3 separate regions of the Homo sapiens genome follow, and all the other regions are linked to region 1. The links are contacts of gene promoters, found by promoter capture Hi-C in blood cells and fetal thymus (Javierre and others, 2016). All regions are on one chromosome and are shown on one strand. Each heading gives the region's core, a stretch centred on a gene start or on the middle of the fragment in contact. The rest is flanking DNA. Distances are from core to core; before and after follow the strand shown.

The links. The method cuts DNA at HindIII sites, captures the fragments that hold promoters and counts their contacts. A CHiCAGO score of 5 or more calls a contact.
Region 2: a fragment that was not itself captured here is called in contact with the fragment with the promoter of GTF3C6 in region 1 in 1 of 17 cell types (naive CD4 T cells); the score reaches 5.1 in naive CD4 T cells.
Region 3: a contact is called between a fragment that was not itself captured here and the fragment with the promoter of GTF3C6 in region 1, in 2 of 17 cell types (M2 macrophages and M1 macrophages). The highest score is 6.7, in M2 macrophages.

Annotation. Positions count from the first base shown.
Region 1 is chr6:110,957,263-110,959,962 of GRCh38, reverse strand. GTF3C6 (general transcription factor IIIC subunit 6) reads right to left here and starts at 1,257. Exons shown (of 6, transcript NM_138408.4): 1 at 1,137-1,257; 2 at 711-791. The coding sequence starts at 1,193. RefSeq lists an enhancer at 935-1,384. The HindIII fragment of the contact is 8,604 bases long and covers 1-2,700 here.
Region 2 is chr6:111,478,517-111,481,216 of GRCh38, reverse strand. All of the region lies in intron 1 of REV3L (REV3 like, DNA directed polymerase zeta catalytic subunit), which reads left to right. Among named protein-coding and RNA genes, the nearest start is that of REV3L, 3.4 kb to the left of the region's middle. RefSeq lists an enhancer at 1,851-2,575. The HindIII fragment of the contact is 2,284 bases long and covers 163-2,446 here.
Region 3 is chr6:110,430,804-110,433,503 of GRCh38, reverse strand. SLC22A16 (solute carrier family 22 member 16) reads left to right here. Exons shown (of 8, transcript NM_033125.4): 7 at 2,234-2,333. Among named protein-coding and RNA genes, the nearest start is that of DDO, 17 kb to the right of the region's middle. The HindIII fragment of the contact is 816 bases long and covers 968-1,783 here.

The sequences.
Region 1 (2,700 bases), core at 8-2,507:
TATTGAGATGGAGTTTTGCCCTTTGTTGCCCAGGCTGGAGTACAGTGGCGCGATCTCGGCTCACTGCAACCTCTGCCTCCAGGGATCACGCGATTCTCCTGTCTCGGCCTCCCGAGTAGCTGGGATTACAGGCGCCCACCACCATGCCTGGCTAATTTTTGTATTTCAGTAGAGACGGGGTTACACCATGTTGGCCAGGCTGGTCTCGAACTCCTGGGCTCGTGATCTACCCGCCTCGGCCTCCCAGTATTGGGATTACAGGCGTGAGCCACCGCGCCTGGCCATTTTTTTTTATTATTATTTTAGAGAAGGGGTCTCGTTATGTTGCCTAGGATGGTCTCCAATTCCTGGGCTCAAGTGATCCTCCCACCTCTGCCTCCCAAAGTGCTGAGAATACAGGAATATATGTACGGTTCCATATCACAATGTTACTTCCTCCAAATCTGTAACTTTCTCTTCAGCCACACATTCAAACAGGCAAGCAAAGTTAGCCATTTTCTCCTATCTGCTCCCATAGTCCCCGCTGTACTTCTACATTATACTTAATTACATATTAATTAATTATACTTAGTATACTTCTTATCCTTAGAGTTCACTACTTTGTAAGGTGAAATAAATATATCAATACTTGCGGATAGGTATTTCACCATTGATTCTTGTTTTACATTTAAGACACTCTAGAACAATCCCCCCAAGTCTAGAAAACTCACCAAAACCTTGCATTTATTTTCACATTTTGAGAGGAAGTCTGAATCAATAATTCCTGATAATTCCACCAGAACCAACTGCTCCTGGTGAAAGAAAGAGGGGTTAACATGCTAGCACGCGAGCGGCCAAGAGGGAGCAATTAGCAAAAGAAGCCAAATTTCCCACATTTGTGAAAACCGGACCCTGTTTTCAGCAAGAGGAAACTACGCTACCTAAGGTAACTTCCCGGTACTTCCCATCCCAAGTACGGGGTGACGATTAGGGCTAAGGTCCCAAGCTGCCCGGCTCCTCGCGCCCAGGAGCAAGAAGCCGGTGAGGAGCAGTGGGGCCTCCCTCCGGCCCGCAGCTCCCCAACTCCCTTCCCCACACACAGCCAGCACAGGCATCACCGCCACTGCGGTGCAGGCTTTTGGCGTAGCGCTTACTACCTCCTCTTCCTCGTCTTCTCCGTCCTCTGGACTCCGCTCGTCCGCCGCCGCCGCCATGGTCCCGCGGCGCCTCGCCTTCTAGTCACTGGCCACGCCCGCCCGGAGCCGCCATCTTGAGTACGGGCTTCAGCTCCGAGGCGAAGCAGCTTATTGGGTTCCTGCCGCTCCGCTCCTCGCCGCGCAAATTGCTTCTGCCAGAACTCGAGATGTCGGCTTCCGGCGGGCGGGTGGCTACGGGCGCCGAGAGCGCCGGTACCCACGTGGAGACTCGCCACGGGCCTCCTCGTTTCTCGGTGCCTCAGAGCAGGGGCTGGGGGTGGGCTGCCGTAGGCAGCGGAGCCCGCTCGGTCACGCAAGAGTCGCCGGGCTCTCGGCCCCGCTGGCGGGGAGGACTGGCAAGGCAGAAGGGATAAAGGCGAAAACAAGGAAACCATGGTTTCAGGCGGATCATGGACAGAAAGGCCTTGTGTTTGACCCGAGCACATTTCTTGGAAAGAAATTCTTAATATTGTGTGAGCGCTCATCCTCAATTCAACGTACCCCAAGCCAAGTTAAAGGCACATTCAGTTTAATACTAATGAGCGCCTACACAGTAAAAAGCACTGCACCAGGAGCTATGAAAAATAGAAAGTGGGCTTAAGTTTCAGGCCTGCAGGAGCATAAGATCTGTGAGAGGTACATAAATGGATCCAAGCAAGTGCTGTAAGAGATACACATTGTTATAGGAACACAGAGACCTGGGCAAGAGAAGTTTGAACAGAATTTTCAGAAGTATCCCATAGATGTTTGTGATTGTGAAAGAAACGGTCTTCGTACTTGCGATAGCGTGATCTAGTGGTTAAGATCGTGAGTTTTGGATTTTTATTTATTTATTTATTTGGAGATGGAGTTTTGCTCTTGTTACCCAGGCTGGAGTGCAATGGTGCAATCTCGGCTCACTGCAGCCTCCACCTCCCGGGTTCAAGCGATTCTCCTGCCTCAGCCTCCCGAGTAGCTGGGATTATAGGCATGCGCCACCACGCCCGGCGAATTCTGTTATTTTTAGTAGAGACGGGGTTTCTCCATGTTGGTCAGGCTGGTCTCGAACTCCCGACCTCAGGCGATCCCCCTGCCTGGGCCTCCCAAAATGCTGGGATTACAGGTGTGAGCCACCGTCCCCAGCCTGAGCTTTGGATTTTAATACCAGTCAAGTTCTGCTGCATTATTAACAGCAAGGCTTTGGGCAGATTGGTGGTTGTGAGGATTAAATGAGACAATACATATAAAATAAATTTAGCCCAGTATTCAGCACATAGTAAGCATTTAAAGTGCATTTAATCTATTATTAGTAGTAATATATAAATTTTTTAGTATGATGCTCTTTCTCTCTTTCTTTTATTCATTGTTTGTTTCTTTCTTTCTCTCTTTCTTTCCTTTCTTTTTTGTGACAGGGTCTGGCTCTGTCGCCCAGCCTGGAGTGCAGTGGCGCCATCGTAGCTCCCTGTACCCTCAAACTCCTGGGCTCAAAGGGAGCCTCCTACCTCTGCTTCCTGAGTAACTGGGACTACAGGTGCACGCCACAGCG
Region 2 (2,700 bases), core at 55-2,554, 520 kb before region 1:
CCTGTTCAGCCAAATTTCCGAATCATAAAGTGACATGCTAATAGGATATACTGTGGCATTTCTGTGTATTACAGCTTGTATGGTTTGAGTTACTTTTCCACACATAATTTTTTCTCCTCCACACAAGTCATTAAATATGTTTTCCTGAGAGATAGTCAAGCTTTGTTGTATAGGAAAGTTTCGTTTGTGGAAATAAATGAGTTTCACTGTAAGCTAATGTAATTCTATTACGTGAGGAAATGTTCCTTAAAAAATAAAGAATATTATATACTGTTGTTTTCCTGAATATTTTTTAAAAGACACATTAACTATTTCCTATTTAATCCTTCATGGACATCCCACAATAGATTACCAGCACCTTAAAAAAAAAAAAAAAAACAAAAACGAAAAAACCAAAGACTAAAAACCCCCATTGGGGTTTTTTTTTTGGTACATACTTTGAAATTTATATTTTAAATGAATTAAAAAGTAACACTTTTTATATGTACATTGAAAGACATAAAACTTGATACAGAGAAAGTCAAATTTTAAATTGTTAAGGATTATCAAATTGAATTTGCCATGTAGTTCACAGTTTCCAACAAAATGTTTGTTTCAACAAGAAAAAATTTGAAGTCATTGGCATACATTTAGAGTTTACACTTTTCATAAACCAAGCCAGCATTTTTATTAGCACGTCAGAAACTCCCAGTGAGATTAATATTAATTAAACATAATCAAAAACTGCAGAATTACCTGCTTTTGAATTATCTCCCCAAGGAAAACTAGTCCAATAAAATAAAACTTGAAAATTATTAATATAAAAGAGAGGCCAGTCTGACTTAGTAAAACTCTGAATGCTAGAATTTTTAATGAAGACAGATTTATTTGAAAGTAAAGATGTAAACATAATGCAAAGATATAAACATGGTTTGTATTATATCTTTATAGTTTATATCTTTACTAACAAGTAAAATAAGGTAATAAAAATGTGTAACACATGATAAACCTATGCTACATAAAATAGCATAAACATACTTTTTTCATATATAAGAATTACTTTGGGAGGTCCTTAATGCTTTACTTTGGTTTGGAGAGAAAATGTTTTAAAATTGACTTTGCTTTACAAATGAGATCCTGAAAAATAGCAACCAAAGATATTTTTTCTCAAATGAAGTGGCCGTTTCAAAATTATATTACAAATTCTGAACTGATTGGATTAATACCCTTTTACTAGTTTAGTTTTTCTATTATTGCCTGAAAAGCATTTTTCTGCTTTAGAAAACAGTCCAGTTGACTTTTGATTGTTCTGTGTTTTGAGGACGTATCTTGAGTAATTTAAGAAATAAAGTGTTTTGGGTTTAAAAGCTCCCATGTCTTAAGTTGGTGAAATTTGAAAAGGTATTTTTAAAAAGAGGGATATTCAGGGCTGGGTGCTGTGGCTCATGCCTGTAATCCCAACACTTTGGAAGACAGAGGCAGGAGGATCGCTTGAACCCAGGAGTTGGAGACCAGCCTGGGCGACATAGTCTGTACAAAACAAACAAACAAACAAACAAAATTGGCTGGGCGTGGTGGTGTGCACCTGTAGTACTAGCTATTTGGAAAGCTGAGACAGGAGAATCGCTTCAGCCCAGAAGGTTGAGGCTGCAGTGAGCCAAGATCACGCCACTGCACTCCAGCCTGGGCAACAGAGCAAGAGCCTGTCTTAAAAAAAAAAAAAAAAAAGGCGGGGGGGGATATTCAGATTTGAATGGTAAATCCTGACTGATTTAATCCCTTGCCAACTGAGGATATTGATTCCTAAGGGAATCACTTAAAGTTTCTTCATCTGAGTTATGGAATTTTTTAAAAAACAAAAACAAATTTCCTCTCCATTTTTTTAACTAGTTTTTAAAATGTCTTGAACATTATTTTGACATAATCAAATTGAGCAGTATCATTTGTAGAATAAATTGTTAATTTTTTCTTTTAGAACAACATTTTGGTAACTTGTTTTAATGGAGGGAAGAAAGGTTGTGAATAAAGTATAGGACAATGTTTTTTCATTTAGATTTGAATATAGGTGTGACCACTCAGAGGATTCACTACAAATGAAATCATCAGGCTTCATTTAAGGATTTGACTGAGGTGGACTTGGGAAGCTGTCCATTTTCCACATCTCGACTTTTGCTTAGTTGCTTGATGTAACTCACTTCATGCTGAGTTTAGACAGCTCTCACAGTTTCCTCAGCACCAGGTTAAACAGAACTATCCTTTCAAAGAGCTTCCCTGCTGAGATGCAGAGTAGGAGTAAATAGAAGAGTGTGGGATGTCCACAAAGCAAGGAATTAAACAAAGTAGGCCAGACAGACTATAGAGGGAGCTGCTTGTCTTTAAGATTACTCTAAGGAACTCTGCCACTTCCTCTAGCTTAGTGAATATTTTGGTAGATTGTTCTAGATACTGTTAGCCATGAAATCAAGCTTTTCAACATAAGGAATTGATAATTCTGAAATGCTATATAAGTTTATGTAGATGCTTATCCAATTATAAATATATTCTCATTGTTTATATTTTATAAAATTAAATATAAGAAACTACCAGAATAACCTTTTTTTTTTTTTTTGGTAAATTGGAGTTAAATTTGCAATAAGAATAATTTTGAAAATTAGCGTGTATCAACAACTCAGGTTCAAAAGTTTCTCTAATAGAATCTGCTTTGTTCATAGTCTGTTTTTT
Region 3 (2,700 bases), core at 126-2,625, 530 kb after region 1:
TGTCTCCACAAGCAGGAGGGATGTAGGACCTAGAAAATCCATTAGTCAAGAGATAGCATAAATCCTTCCCTAGGAATTTTCCATGCCCACACACCTGCCTGCTGAAATGCTAGGGCAGGCAGCCCTGTGGACCAGGATGGGTAAGTACATTTGTGTTGACTGTAGATAGATTAATGGATATCTAGATGGATGGATGGATGGATGGAGGGATGGAAGAATGGATAGATAGAGTAGGTACACATATATATCTAAGAAAAAAGTTTATCAGACTAATATGTGACCAGGGGTATAGAATAGCAGAGGAATAACTCCCTATGTAATTGTCTATTAGCCCAGTTGTCTGAGAGTAGAGTTTTTCTTCTTCCTCCATACTTCCCCTCTAGGTCACCCAGAGTGCTATTATTAGACCACTCTCGCAGTCTAATAATAAATACATCTTCTGTCCATTTTACAGGTTGTGGAACTGGAATTCACACAAGATTAGGGTCGTGGCCAAAGGCATCTGGCTAGTCAGTGACCCATCAGAACTCAAATCCACATCTTTTGGCCCTATCTGTCACCCAGTGAAATACATGAGAATTTTTATGGGAGACAGTGCTTAACATTAGCGGGGGATAAGTTGCTAGCAGTAGAGCTTTAGTAGCAGAGGGGAAGAAGGTATTTTGGGGTAAGGGCTTTGTGGACTCTTCTCAGATCATATTGTGAAAGTGGCAGCCCTGCACAGATGTACAGTAGCAGACAGGCAGAATAACAGATTACATTCTAGCACTTACAGGCTGACAATGGTGGAGACTAGTTGAATGCAATAGAGAGTGAAGTTGCATAATTGCCAACTTGCGTTGTGGCTTTGGCTCCGTTGTGGCTGACCCAGGGAAGAAGCTGCTCTAAATCAGGGAGAATATCTTTGTCATGTCCTGTGGGACCCTTCTGGCCTCTCAGGTGGATTTCTGCTCAGCCAGGAAAAGCTTCAGATTTTCCCAGTTCAGAATTCAGATTGGACCAGATCCATGCAGTGCCTGGCACATATTAGACTCTTGACACACATGTGCTGAGTGAATGCATGTTATATGCTAAGAAGGTGACAATCCCATCAAATAATGTCAATGTGCATTGCAATTATGAATATTATAGTATTTTTTAAGATCTTTTCTTTGTTGGCTTGGTTGTTGGTTTACAACCACAGGTACATGACCTCAAAAAAATCCAATATGTAAATATTTAATACAGGAAATCTTTAACCAACTCTATGAGCTCCCTAAACACCCTAACACTGCATGCAAAATTTTACTTATGTATGATTTCTTTCTCAGAAGAATGCCATACTTTTTATCAGTTCTTTATAAATGTGTGTGACTGGAAAAGATGAGGCACCGTTAATTTATAGAGGTACTTACTCACATAAAAGGACAGTCTTTCCTTACTAACATTCTATACATTTTCTCTAAGTAACCTTTAAAGAAAAGCACATTAAGATATTCCTTGACTCTAAAAAGTTGAAATAGAACAGTACACAGGTATACAGATACTTTGTTCTCTCAAATTCCCACTCCCTACCTGAAACAAATTCCTGCTCTAGAAGACCTTATTATTCTTAATGTTAGGCTGGATCAGTACACACAAGGGCCTCACCTGCACAGCAGATGAAGAATGGCTTACCTCCACACTCCTACCTCTTTTTTGTCATGAATTGTCTTGAATTATGTGCATGCTTATATACACCACTGTTTCACAAAATGTAGGTATTGTGATTCTTGAAAAATTTAAGTAAAATTATTTTCAAGCTTACGTTTTTTTACGGTCATGTGTTGCTTAATGATGGGCACCGTTTTGAGAAATGCATCCTTTGGTGATTTCGTGGTTGTCAGAACATCATAGAGTGAACTTACACAAACCTAGATGGCCCAGCATACTACACACCCAGGCTATGTGGCACAGCTTATTCCTCCTCGGCTGTGACCCTCCACAGCATGTTACTGCACTGAATACTGCAGGCAGTCGTAACACAATGGTAAATATTTGTGTATCTAAACATATTGAAAGATAGAAAAAGTCGAGTAAAAATGTGCTATTATAATCTCGCGGGGCCACCGAGGTTGACTGAAACGTTGTAATGCGCTGCCTGACCACCCTTATCCTTGCTGGGGAGCGTGGGAAAGGAGCTGCAGGAAGCAGGTCCCTCAATCCCTGGGTCACTTGTGCCTTACTTGTCTCAGCCTCTCTCCTCTGTTTCCAGATCGCTGGCTGTGGGAAGCGGCAGCATGGTGTGTCGCCTGGCCAGCATCCTGGCGCCGTTCTCTGTGGACCTCAGCAGCATTTGGATCTTCATACCACAGGTGTGCTTCAGTTTGCAGACCCTCCCCAAGGGGGCACGGAGGCAGTTTCTAATTGCCTATTAGCAACTTCTCTATTGTTATTTACTGAAAGCCAGTACATCATTTCCTAATGGGGTTTGTAGAAACAACCCCATTACCAACAGCTGGCCAGTTGGTGAGTAGGGTGGTGGCTGCTGTGCGATTGGCCATTGGTGGCCTTCCACCACTGCTGAGCTGTTCATTACAACTCTGCCTGCCACAAAAGGGCATGTCCTCACCCTTGCCTGGAAGCCAGGCCTGGGGAAGGGAGAGCTCTGGTCTCTGTCCTCCTCAGGGCATCTGCCCCCACCCGCTGGCCTGGCCTTGCCTCTGTGTTCCCACTGAGTGC